2 separate regions of the Homo sapiens genome follow, and region 2 is linked to region 1. Evidence: promoter capture Hi-C in human tissues and cell types (Jung and others, 2019). All regions are on one chromosome and are shown on one strand. Each heading gives the region's core, a stretch centred on a gene start or on the middle of the fragment in contact. The rest is flanking DNA. Distances are from core to core; before and after follow the strand shown. Region 1 holds the start of BHMT2 (betaine--homocysteine S-methyltransferase 2). Region 2 overlaps ARSB (arylsulfatase B).

What was found. The method cuts DNA at HindIII sites, captures the fragments that hold promoters and counts their contacts. A contact is called where the count stands out against the background at its distance.
Region 2: a contact is called between a fragment that was not itself captured here and the fragment with the promoter of BHMT2 in region 1, in 1 of the 25 tissues and cell types used here (mesendoderm cells).

Annotation. Positions count from the first base shown.
Region 1 is chr5:79,067,536-79,073,603 of GRCh38, reverse strand. BHMT2 (betaine--homocysteine S-methyltransferase 2) reads right to left here and starts at 3,837. Exons shown (of 8, transcript NM_017614.5): 1 at 3,789-3,837. The coding sequence starts at 3,821. DMGDH (dimethylglycine dehydrogenase) reads left to right here and starts at 3,930. Exons shown (of 16, transcript NM_013391.3): 1 at 3,930-4,084. The coding sequence starts at 3,984. The HindIII fragment of the contact is 19,729 bases long and covers 1-6,068 here.
Region 2 is chr5:78,894,059-78,900,126 of GRCh38, reverse strand. The region is part of intron 4 of ARSB (arylsulfatase B); the gene reads left to right. Among named protein-coding and RNA genes, the nearest start is that of ARSB, 88 kb to the left of the region's middle. RefSeq lists a silencer at 1-58. The HindIII fragment of the contact is 5,434 bases long and covers 1-4,976 here.

The sequences.
Region 1 (6,068 bases), core at 2,588-5,087:
CCTGCATCAAATGCAATTCACTCTTTTCAATTTGTACTTTTGAAATATAAAAAAGGCCTTAAATTTTGGACGTTTATTGAGACCTTCCACATGTCAGGTATAGTTGTGGGCAAGTGGGATAAACATCAGAATAAGACAAGGTCTCTGCCCTCCACAAGCTCAAAGTCTGGCTACTTTGGGGAAGGCCAATAAATCAACAAATAATCACAGCAGAATGTGACCAATAAATGCTACACAGGAATACAGAAGAGAAAGTCAGAGGTACAGTTACTGTGTACAAACTGTTTTCCTGAAAATCCCATACACTTCATTAGGTTCACCATGTTAAGAATCAAATTTAGGCCAGGCGCGGTGGCTCACGCCTGTAATCCCAGCACTTTGGGAGGCTGAGGCAGGCAGATCACTTGAGGTCAGGAGTTTGAGACTAGCTTGGCCAACATGGTGAAACTCCATCTCTACTAAAAATACAAAAATTAACTGGGCATGGTGGCAGGTGCCTGTAATCCCAGCTACTTGTGAGGTGGAGGCAGGAGAATAGCTTGAACCTGGGAGTTGGAAGTTACAGTGAGTTGAGATTGTGCCACTGCATTCCAGCCTGGGCAACAGAGTGAGACTCTGTCTCAAAAAAAAAAAAAAAAGAATCAAATTTACTCAAACAATTGTCGAGGGAAAACATTGGCACAGAATTCAGATGTTGTAGGTTAGCTTCTCACCTCCCACATCCAACCTATCACAGGGTTATGCCAAGTGTATTACACATTTCTCAAATGCCCCACCATCCTCACTGCATTTGATTATTGAAATGGTCTCCAGTTCTCTCCAGCCCTACTCTGAACTGTCTTCCATTGCTACCAGAGCACAGGCTCACTGACCCAGTCTCACCTGTGATTATACCCCTTTTGTGTCCTGCTTAACTTCACAGATCCTTCATTCATGCATCCCCCTGTACAGCAGTATCTGGTTACTTACTTGTCACCTCAGTTTGACTGTAAGAGGCTTGGGGGCAGGTGACATATCTTATTGGTCTATATCCCTACCACCACATATAACAACTAAAATGAGTAGACACTTAAGAAACTATGCCAAGAATTAGCAAATAAACAGGACTGTTTTGAAAATGTCAGATGTATTGCATATGCTAGAATTTTTGTCCTGAAGAAGAAAAAATGTTACTCTTTAGCAGACAATTAGGTAGGTTTTAAGAAAATTGTAGTATATATTTTGACTGTGTCTTTATGAAACCAAGTAAAGGGAGGACATTTTCATTTGTTATCTGGATGTTTGTCCACCATTTTAAATTTGCCATTTTTCTTTTCTTTTCTTTCTTTTTTTTTTTGAGACAGAGTTTCACTCTTGTCGCCCAGGCTGGAGTGCAGTAGCGCGATCTCAGCTCACTGCAACCTCCACCTCCAGGGTTCAAGCAATTCTCCTGCCTCAGCCTCGCAAGTAGCTGGGATTATAGGTGCATGCCACCATGCCCAGCTAATTTTGTATTTTTTAGTAGAGACAGGGTTTCACCATGTTGTCCAGTGTGGTCTCGAACTCCTGACCTTAGATGATCTGCCTGCCTCGGCCTCCCAAAGTGCTAGGATTACAGGTGTGAGCCACTGTGCCCGGCCAATTTGCCATTTTTCTACATAGCCATTAGCAAAATAACTAAGTTATCAAGATTTGAGATCAGAGCATCTTTTAGCCCTTCCTTCACTGCTATTCTAACTACCTCAATTAATTACTATACCAGTATGATCCCTTCTTTAGTTTTTTTTTTTTTTTTTTTTTTTACTTTTAAGTTCAGGGGTACATGTGCAGGATGTGCAGGTTTGTTACACAGGTAAATGTGCATCATTGGAGGTTTGCTATATGGGTTATTTCCTCACCCAGGTATTAAGCCTAGTATCCATTAGTTATTTTTCCTGATCCTCTCCCTCCTTCCACCCTCCACCCTTCGATAGGCCCCAGTGTGTGTTGTTCCTCACCATTATACTAGTACGATCTAAAGTCAACTGTAAAATTATAAAGACAGGAACATGTAAAATAAGGAACCCTGTAAATTAATTTTGCAGTACATTTATATTTTCATTCCCTCCTCCCCATCAGTTTGGCAGTGAACCTGCCTTGCATCTGACAGCGAGCTCTAGGGTGCATTTATGCCCCCTTTTTGCAGATATCACTACGTAAGACCTCTGGGTTTAAGATCTGGCTTCAAGACATCTCTATTCATACTCAGTGGGGATCAACTTCACTGTGTAGTAGGAGGTGATCAGAAAAACCCAGTCTGTCTAAAATAACTTCCCCTTTTCCTAGATTTGCCAGCAGAACTGCTCTTTTGGATTTAAGACCTAATTGGAGGTCTTGTCTGTGGCAATTAAATGAATTCTTAAAATGTACCTGCTAGCTGAGGAGAGAGGTGAGATTAGTTCCTTCCCATTAACACCTTAACTCCCAGGTACACATTCACATGGATTAGTGTGTGATAATCTTGGTGTTGTAACAGTAGAGGCCCCAAAGACACTGAACAAAAACAGGGCATTTTAAAAACGTTTAAAAATATGAACTGTAAAGATGAACATAGCATTAGAGAAAGTTGAGAGAAAAAAGCACAATGTTCTTTGATTATTTTTATTAACTGTATTCTTTCAATGCTCACATTTTGCTTTTATAACCTGAAAAAATATCCTAAAACATGCTTTTTAAACCAATATTCCACATCTTGTGTAACTATTACCATTATTGTGTCCTTCCTTACAGTGTGTATATAAATATTTGTATATGGTTGGGATCAGTTTGTGATATATTTCCTTTTGCAACTTAACATTGCCAAGGCACTTAGCTGGTTCTCATACTAAGTTATTTAACTGTCTAATAACTTAAGTAGATGAACCTTAATTTATTTAGAATCCCGTATTGCAGAGTATCTTGGTCGTTTCTAACTTTTTAGTATAAATAGCTCGGTGGTGCACATTTCCACGCATAAACTGCCCCTCCTCCCTTCCTCCCATTCTGAATGACAGGGCTGGAGCGGGTGGGGGTCTCTGAAGGGTCCTGGGGATGTCTTTCGTCCAAGCTCATGCCCTTCCTAATTTTGCTTAGTCACTCCTTCATCCCACCCCCACACATACTCGACGTAGAAATGGCTGGGCATAAAGCCAACATCTGGTGACCAGACCAGGAAAGGGGCCAGGAGCTGGGGACCACCGGGTGAGAGGAGGTTGAGGGGTGCTAGCGAATCCCACCTACCCTCCACCCTGCACCGCAGCTCTGGGGGCGTCCTTGCCCAGGACTAGTTTCAGACCAGCCGGCGACTCGCAAGGCCAGGCTGCTTGGCCAGGCTGCTGACTTTTCCAAAACGCGAGGGGACAGTCCGAAGAGTTCCCGGACGGATTAGCCCAAAGAGCTGCGGGCGAGGGTCGGTTGAGGGAAGAAAATGTGTGCGCGACATGCGTCCGAAAGCTAGACTTCTGATCCTCGCTCCCCGCGGGGCTGGACCCGTGACCCTGAGCTAGTCGCCTGACTCGCCGAGCCTCAGTTTCCTCACCTGTGAAATGGGGATAATTGTGAAGATGAGGAGATAACTTGAGCACAGCACTCTGTGCAGCGCCAGGCACCGAGTAAGGGCTCCATAAACGCTAACCAACCCGTGACAGGGGAAAATTGAGGCTCAGGGCCATCCCGTCCAAGTGTTTTGCCGAGGCCCCAGGGCTTGGCTAGGGATGGACGCCGGGTGTGAACGGAGTCGCTCGCAGCCCAGCGGCCAGGAGCTCCGCGAGGATCGAGGGGACGAAACTCACCTTCTTGGCCCCCGGGCGTCCAGCAGGTGCCATGGTGCCGCGGCTCTGTGGGCGCCGGGTTCCCGGGCGCGCGGCCGTCTAGGAGCCCGCCCCCAGCCCGGGGGGAGGATCCGACCCCCGCCCCGCCGGCCCCGCGGCCTCAGGCTGCCCGCTGGCCTCGGAGCAGGCGCCTGCGCCCTCGGCCTCGGCCTAGTCATGCTCCGTCCCGGCGCGCAGCTGCTGCGGGGCCTCCTGCTGCGGAGCTGCCCGCTGCAGGGCTCCCCCGGGCGCCCGCGCTCTGTCTGCGGCCGGGAAGGGTGAGTGGGGCCCCGTCCTGCTCAGAGGCGACGGGGCGGCTGCGGGGGTGGGAGCCAGAGGCTGAGGCAGGCTCAGGGGTTAGGAGCGCTCTGGCCTCCAAGAAATAGGCCTTGATATATCTTCTCGAATTATCTTTTAATTATAAAGTGAAACAGTATCCAAAGGTTCCCCGTGTAAAGTCTCTCCTGCCCCAATCCCCTTGGCCAGTGAACAATTGTTAATAGTGTCTTCTGAATCTAACCAGAGACAGTCTACGCATAGGCAAACACAGGTCAGTATAGGTTTTCCTTTGGCTTTTTGACATCTTGCTTTTTACAATTATCAATATATCTTGGAGATTGTTCCATATCAGCACACACTGACTTGCCTTGTTCCTTTTAATGGCTGCATAGTTTTCCATCCTGTCAATATTCTACACTATCGTTAGTCTATTCATTAACATTTAAATGGTTTTTGGTTGTTTATTACTGCAAATAACGTGCATGTGAAAATTCTTAGGCATCTATCTTTGAGTACATATGGGAGTCGGTAGCAACAGTTTTTAAAGGTGAACTTGTTAGGGAAAAGGTTACGTGCATCTGAAAGATTGAAAGACAGCAACACATTCTCCAAGTGGGTGGCAAGAGTTTGCATGCGGCACACCAGTGTGTGTCTGTTTCCCACATCTTCCCTGGTTCCCAGAATAGCCCATTTTGTTATCTTTGCTAAATCTGATAGGTAAAAATGGCATGTCCTTGTTTTGATTGGTCTGTATTTAAATATGAGCAATGCTGAACATCTTTCGACTTCTTATATTTGTAGATTATTCCTGGTTGCCAGGAAAGGCTTGTTTATCAGCATCACTCAACATTATTATGAGTTGATTCGAATTTTATTTTATGTCCTATGACCTGAAATTCTGGAATCAGAAGACCTGCTTTTGAGTTCCATCTATCCATTCAACAAATATTTACTGGGTGTTGTGATGTGCTAGGTTTGTCTCCAGTACTGGGAATGCAGTAGCCACCAACTCACAGTTCCTGCGCCATCTGTTACACAGAATGTGACCTTACACTTCTGAGGTTCAGTTTCCTCATCTATAAAATGAGGATACTAATTTTGCTCTATATAACTCACAGGATTGCTGTGAATATTAAATAAGAGAATGCATGTGAAAGTGCTTTGTAAATTGTAAAGCAATGCAAAAATATTTATAATAATGATGTTTTTAATCCAGTGCAAAATAAAATGGAAATTTAACAAACAAACTGATTAGATAAATAAGATACAAATTTCAAGACTATCCAAAAAATTCATATTTTGGCTGAGTGTGGTGGCTCATGCCTGTAATCTCAGCACTTTGGGAAGCTGAGGTGGGCAGATTACTTGAGGCCAGGAGTTTGAGACCAGCCTGATCAACATGGTGAAACTCTGTCTCTAATAAAAATGCAAAAATTAACTGGGTGTCATGGTGTGCACCTGTAGTCCAAGCTGCTTGGGAGGCTGAGGCGGGAGAATCGCTTGAACCTGGGAGGCGGAGACTGCAGTGAGAACCGAGATTGCACCACTGCACTCCAGCCTGGGCGACAGGGATTCCATCTCACAAACAAAAACAAAAACACCCAAAAGTTGAGTTATTTCAATTGCATATTCTTTATATACCCAATTTCAAACTATCAAAAAATGTTTTATTTTGGAAAGCAGTTGAACAAGCATACAGTTTGTGCTTATCATTTCTAATACAGAAGATAACTGACCTGGGTTTTTTGCATGGCTCCTAAGTTTTATTTCAAATACTCTTATAAACATCCTCGACTACATTCAGAAGGATTTTAAGATAGTTATCCACATAATCAAAAACACTATACCTAGTCTGAAACCTATTATGGCATGCTGGGCCGAGGAAATACTATATATTTGATAATGCTTTATCATATGTTGCCAAACAGAACCTTCACAGCTCCGTTTTGCAAATGAGAAAACTTTGAGACCCTTGTGTAAATT
Region 2 (6,068 bases), core at 1,010-3,509, 170 kb after region 1:
TAGGAGCCTGTAGAACATACCTGGGATAATCCCTTTGGTGACTCCCCCATTTGGGACAGGCAGCACTGCAACCGTTTACTAGAGCCAAAGTGAACCTGGGCTTATAGCGCCACCTAGAGCCGAAAAGGAGGCAGCAATCTAGTTGCAAAGATTAAGCAAATATATTCAATGAAAGACAAAACAAGCTGGACAGAGAAAACTAGAATCAATAATTAATCCTTCAATGCAAAGACATAGACATATACCCGCAAGTAACAACAGCAAACAGGGAACCACAGTCTCCCCAAAGGACAAAGCAAAAATCCAATGACTGACCCTAACGAGATGGCGACTATTAGCTTCTGACCAATAATTTAAAATAGCAGTTTTAAGGAAACTCAGGTATCTCCAAGATAATACAGAAAAGCAGAAATTTATCAGAGAAATCTAACAAAGAGATTGAAATAATTTTAAAAAATCAAACAGAAATCTTAGAACTGAGAAATACATTTGCCAAACTGAAGAACTCTTAAGAGGCTCTGAGCAGCAGAGTGAGCCAAGCAGAGGAAAGAATCTATGAGCTCAAAAACCAGCTGTGTGAAAATACACAATCAGAGAAGAAAAAAGAAATAAGAATAAAATGTAACAAAGACCACCTACAATATGTAAAAAATTACCTCAAAAGACCAAATCTAAGAATTACTGCTGTTGGTGTTCAAGAGAGAGTGAAGCGAGAGCAAGGGGTAGAAAGTTGATTCAAAAGGATAAGAACTGAAAACTTTCCAAAACTTGAGAAAGAGAAATATCCAGCTACAGAAAGGTCAGAGAACACCAAACAGATTTGACCCAAATAAGACTACTCCAAGGCATAGAAAAATGAAACTCTCAAAGGTCAAGGACAAAGAGAGGATCCTAAAAGCAGCAGAGAAAAGAAGCAAATAACACGTAAAGTAGCTCTAATTCATGTGGCAACGGATTACTCTAAGGAAACTAAACAGGCCAGGAGGGAGTGGAATGGCATTTTCAGATTGCTCAAAGAGAGACAAAAAAAGCCTGCCATCCAAGAATATTGTATCCAGCAAAATTATCATTCAAATATAAAGGAGAGATAAAATCTTTCCCAGACAAACAAAAGCTGAGAGAATTCACCACCACTAGATCCATCTTGCAAGAAATACTAAAGGCAGTTCTTCAGTCTGAAAGAAAAAACGCTAATGTGCAAAAGAAAACTTTTCAAAGTATAAAACCTACAGGTAAAATTAAGTACCTGGACAAACTCAGAATACTCTCTTACTGTATTGCTGGTATGCAATCCACTCATAACTCTACTATGAAGCTCAAAAGACATGAGCCAAGGAGTGAAAACAGCCTCTAGAAGCTAGAAAGGCAAGGAAATGGATTTGCTAGAAAGGCAAGGAAATGGAACTTCCAGAAGGGAATGCAGCCCTCTCAACACCTTGACATTAGCCCAGTGAGACCTGCATCAGACTTGTACAGGCCTCAGCAGCTGAATGTATTGTACAGCCTGCAGAACTGTACAATAATAAGTGTGTATTGTTTAAGCTGCTAAGTGTGTGGTAATAGAAAACTAATGTATGTTTTTTTATATAAAGCTAAATTTGATTTCCTAAATATTGTTAAAGATTTTTACACCTGTGTTCATTGTGGTTTTCTTTTTCTGTAATGTCTTTGTTTCATTTTGGTGTCAGAGTAATGCTGGCCTCATAGAATAAGTTGGGAAGTACAGGATTCCTATCTATTTTTTGAAAGAGTTTGTATAGAACTAGTATTATTCCTTTCTTAAATGTTTGGTAGAATTTGCCAATGAAGGCATTTGGGCCTGAAATTTTCTTGGTGAGAAGGTTTTGTTTTGTTTTGTTTTGAGACAGAGCCTCACTCTGTCGCCCAGGCTGGAGTGCAGTGGCACAGTCTCGGCACTGCAACCTTTGCCTCCCGGGTTCAAGCGATTCTCCTGCCTCCGCCTCCTGAGTAGCTTGGATTATAGGTGCCTGCCACCACACCTGGCTAATTTTTGTATTTTTAGTAGAGCCGGGGTTTCTCCATGTTGGCCAGGCTGGTCTCGAACTCCTGGCCTCATGTGATCCATCCACCTCAGCCTCCCAAAGTGCTGGGATTACAGGCGTCAGCCACCGCACCCGGCCTGTGGGGAGGTTTTTAATTACTAATTTCAATGTCTTTAATGGGTATAGGGCATGTACGTTATCTATTTTTTCCTGAATGAACTTAGATTAATCATTTTTGAAGTCTTAGTTGCTAGAAAAAAATATTTAAAAATTGGTGAATTTTCTCATTAAAGCAGCTTTTAGTGCATTTTTGAATATAGTAAATATAAATATTTTATATTTATAGAATATATTTTAGATCTGAAAAATAATTATTATGAGAGTCCACATATTACAAAAATACAAATATTATATCTGAGTCCTTACTTACCAGGAGATCTGATTATAACTTGATTTCCCATACATTTATGCCACTCCCATGGGCCATAAACATGCCAGTCACTGTGATAAATTTACTTTGTAAATCAATTAATTGACTTTGTGATTATATATATATCATTTACAGTGATTCTGCTTCTAAAAAGTGGAACCTCTTTCCATATGCTGTTAGAATTATTTATAAGCTTACAGAGGTTTAGGCCAGACCCCAAACTGTGTTAAATTCACAAGGTAATGAGTGCTAACCTGTGAAGCCTCTTGAAAGAGAGGTCACTACCTATCTCTGGCCATATGTCCCAATCCTGCCATTGTATAGGGCAGTGGTTTTTACTGAGAGTATTTTAGAAATTCACTTGAGTGTTACTGATAGTTAGTGAGTAGGGGGCTCAGGATGCAATGCCCGTAATAACCCCACACAGTGAGGAATTGTCCCAAGTCCTGTACAACTTACAAAATATCCTGCTGGTTAGTCATGAAGATTAAAAGCTTGTTTACAATTTTCTGAGACTAGAACCTAAGTCTAGTCTCTATGTTTTACACATAAACACAAAGTATTTTTTGCGTGGTTTTAATATATAATTAATATTCTAATCTTTATTTTAGCATTTATCCCTGCTCTCTCTTTTTTTTTGTATTTCTACTATAGAATGGCCTTAAGTCCAAATTTATTTCGTCTATAACTGTATGCACTCATCTAACCACTTTGCTATGTCTTTTAGGGTTGAACCTGCGCATTTTCCTATGAAATACATGCTATTTTATTATTAATTGCCTTTTTCTACTCTGTATTACACTGAGAGTTATTTTTTTTAATTAGACATATAGTTACAGTATTGTATATAAATTCCATTTCAGGACAAAGGAGCATCACAAAATATTTGTTATGAAAAGGGTGGGGATGTTAGATTTGAAAAGCCTGAGAGGCATGTTATAGAAACAAACTTTCTTCTGATTTCAGTACTTTTCCTATCATTATAGTTGCTATTACATAAAAATGTAAAGTCTTGGAATGAGTCCATATTACTGCTTCAAAATAACCAAAACAATAAAAATGGATTTAACTTCTATTTCGCCTACAAAATAGCCTAACACAATTATTATATCCATCAAGTCTAGGACATCCAGCCATAGTGCTCACACATATGCATAGTAATCACAAATTTCAGTGCACAAACTTAGATCTGCAAAGAATATAACTTACTTCTTTTTTACCCTGTCACTGAACGCAGTACCTCTGGGGTCCCTATTCTGCTGGGTGGAGGAAACCTGGTTCCAGTCAATTCAGATCATCTCAGTTAATTCATGATCTCATCCTGGCTCCCCTCCAGGGAGCCAGTGCGTTGGAGCTGAAGGAAGTGTGTGGTCCATAGTCATCCTTGCACAAGCCTCTGCAGAAACATTCCTGTTCCTGGCTGGCCTTTTTATATCATCCATCTAGATCATGCTGCGACCTCCTTGCCTGCGGAGACTCTTTGGACCATCTCTGTGCCACATTTGTGCTCTTCTCAACACCAAATCAAAAACATTCATCAGTTCAGCTGCAACCCCTTCCACACTGTGGTGTGAGAAGCCTCTGAGCCTGCCTTCCATCACCTTGTGCAACCATTGTCATCTGCTGCTGCCACACTATACTGGGCACAAGAACCGCAGGGAGTCTTGCTATCCTCTCATCTGCCCCCCGGCTCCTCCAGGGGATGAGGCATGGTTCTTTCCACTCTTGTATCCCTCCGTCCATTATTTCTTCTACACTAGATCCAGTCCTGGGGGCAGAGCCCAAGATGTGTGCTTAAGGTCACAGCCATGTCCTTTAGCTTCGTTTCCAGTCCTCTCTCTTCCCCTGGCTCTGAGTGATTGCTTAAGCTAAATCTATTAGCTCATCCACCTGCTGACTATCCATTTCCGGAGCCCAGACATGGATCTCCCTGCCTGCTTCCTGGGTTGAGGGTCACAGGGTGACAAAATTACTAGGAATGAGAAAAGCTGTTACTTAATATTTGGAAACATCATTCCAGTGGAGATGCAGGGCACATGAGGCATACTGCTTAGCCTGTAATAATTTTCTCTCTTTTCAGTCTATATGCCTAACTTTATGCCAGGATAGTGAAAGTTTTCATGTGCTTATCGTTGTGACCTTTGCAAGGTATCAGGTGAAGAAGGCAGGCACATTGTATTGCTGTAGATAAATAGGATTAATGACAGGAATATGGGATATAAACCTTTTTGCTAGGTCTAAACCATCCTTAACTATGCCATGAGTCTCTCACTATCTTAATGATGTAGGGTCATCATTTTAATTTTTTTATTGTAGTATGCATCTTTCAGTGGTGTCTTCAATATACGTCAGTGTGGATCATTTAATGTTGGAAAAACAGGTAAAGACACTTTAGTTTGTGGTCTACTTTTACAATTTATACTTTTCTTCTCCTTTCCTCCTTCTACAAAGATTATGTCCAGCAGTATGCATCTTCCTGACTTGCAGATTCTAGCCTGCTATAAAATTAGGACACCAGACACCGCACATATTGCTAGAATTGCGTCTGAGACTGAATAGGTCCTGAGTTAGTCTCTAATTGCATGGACTTCGTGGTGCCTATTGTGGTAACTCAGGGGCATTTGTTTTGATTTGTTTGTTTGTTTGTTTGGTTGGTTGGTTTGGTTTTTTATCCTGGCCCTTGGCTGTTCATCCCTTTGTCTCCTGCTGCAAGGCCTCCTGTTAGCCATTTGCCTCTCATTAGGCATGGAGCTCCAGGCTGCCTTCCATGTTCTTTCCTCCTGAGTGGCCTCCTCACCTGCTTGGGATGTCCAGTGTCAATCACCTGGATTCTGCCCTCACTCCCACTGTGCATGCCCTGGTCAGAGGTGGGGCTGCTGCCCAGGACTCTGGGGGCTCACAGAGTTTATTTCACTTTGGCCTTGGAGCAAGTGTTATCTGCAGATCCGAAGAGGTTCTTGTTATTATTGATTAAGTATGCATTCAATATTTGAAATGCTTTAAACAAACTGCTTCATGTTTGGATATATTGAGTTATTTTTGTTTCTGCCATTAAATGTTTTACTCTCCGGTTATTCTTCAGGGAGGATTGTGCTCATCAGTGTTCTCGTGACTTTTGTTTGCCTCTCTCTGCATTAAACACCCAAACATCAGTGAGATCCTTTAGAATCTGGCAAAACTTCAGAGAACTCTGAGGAAATGAAACTGCCTGTCCACTCAGTTTCATTGATTTTTCTGAGTAACCTTAAAGGCATATCTTACTACTTAAGAAGTAGAGATTCAGTAAAATGTTGTTTCTGTTCCAAGGATAAAAATTGAGAACATTTAACTTGTATTATATACTTGGAATCATAAAGACAAATTGAAATAGTTGATGTCTGCCCAGATAGAATGTGCTAGCTTTCTCTGGCTTAACCATCTCTGAAAACACATTGACATAAATTTCCATCTTTCTCACCACGCAAGTTGTTAGTACACCTGTTCTTTTGAAACCACAATTCTGTTTGTTCCTGTGTGTTGATGGTATTTTCACTTTTCTCCTGCTGCCCTTGAACTTGCCAGACTCTCCAGCACTTGTGTGGTACTTTTCTCATTCATTACTTCTCTAGTGGCATTACTGAAGGATAAACAGCTGT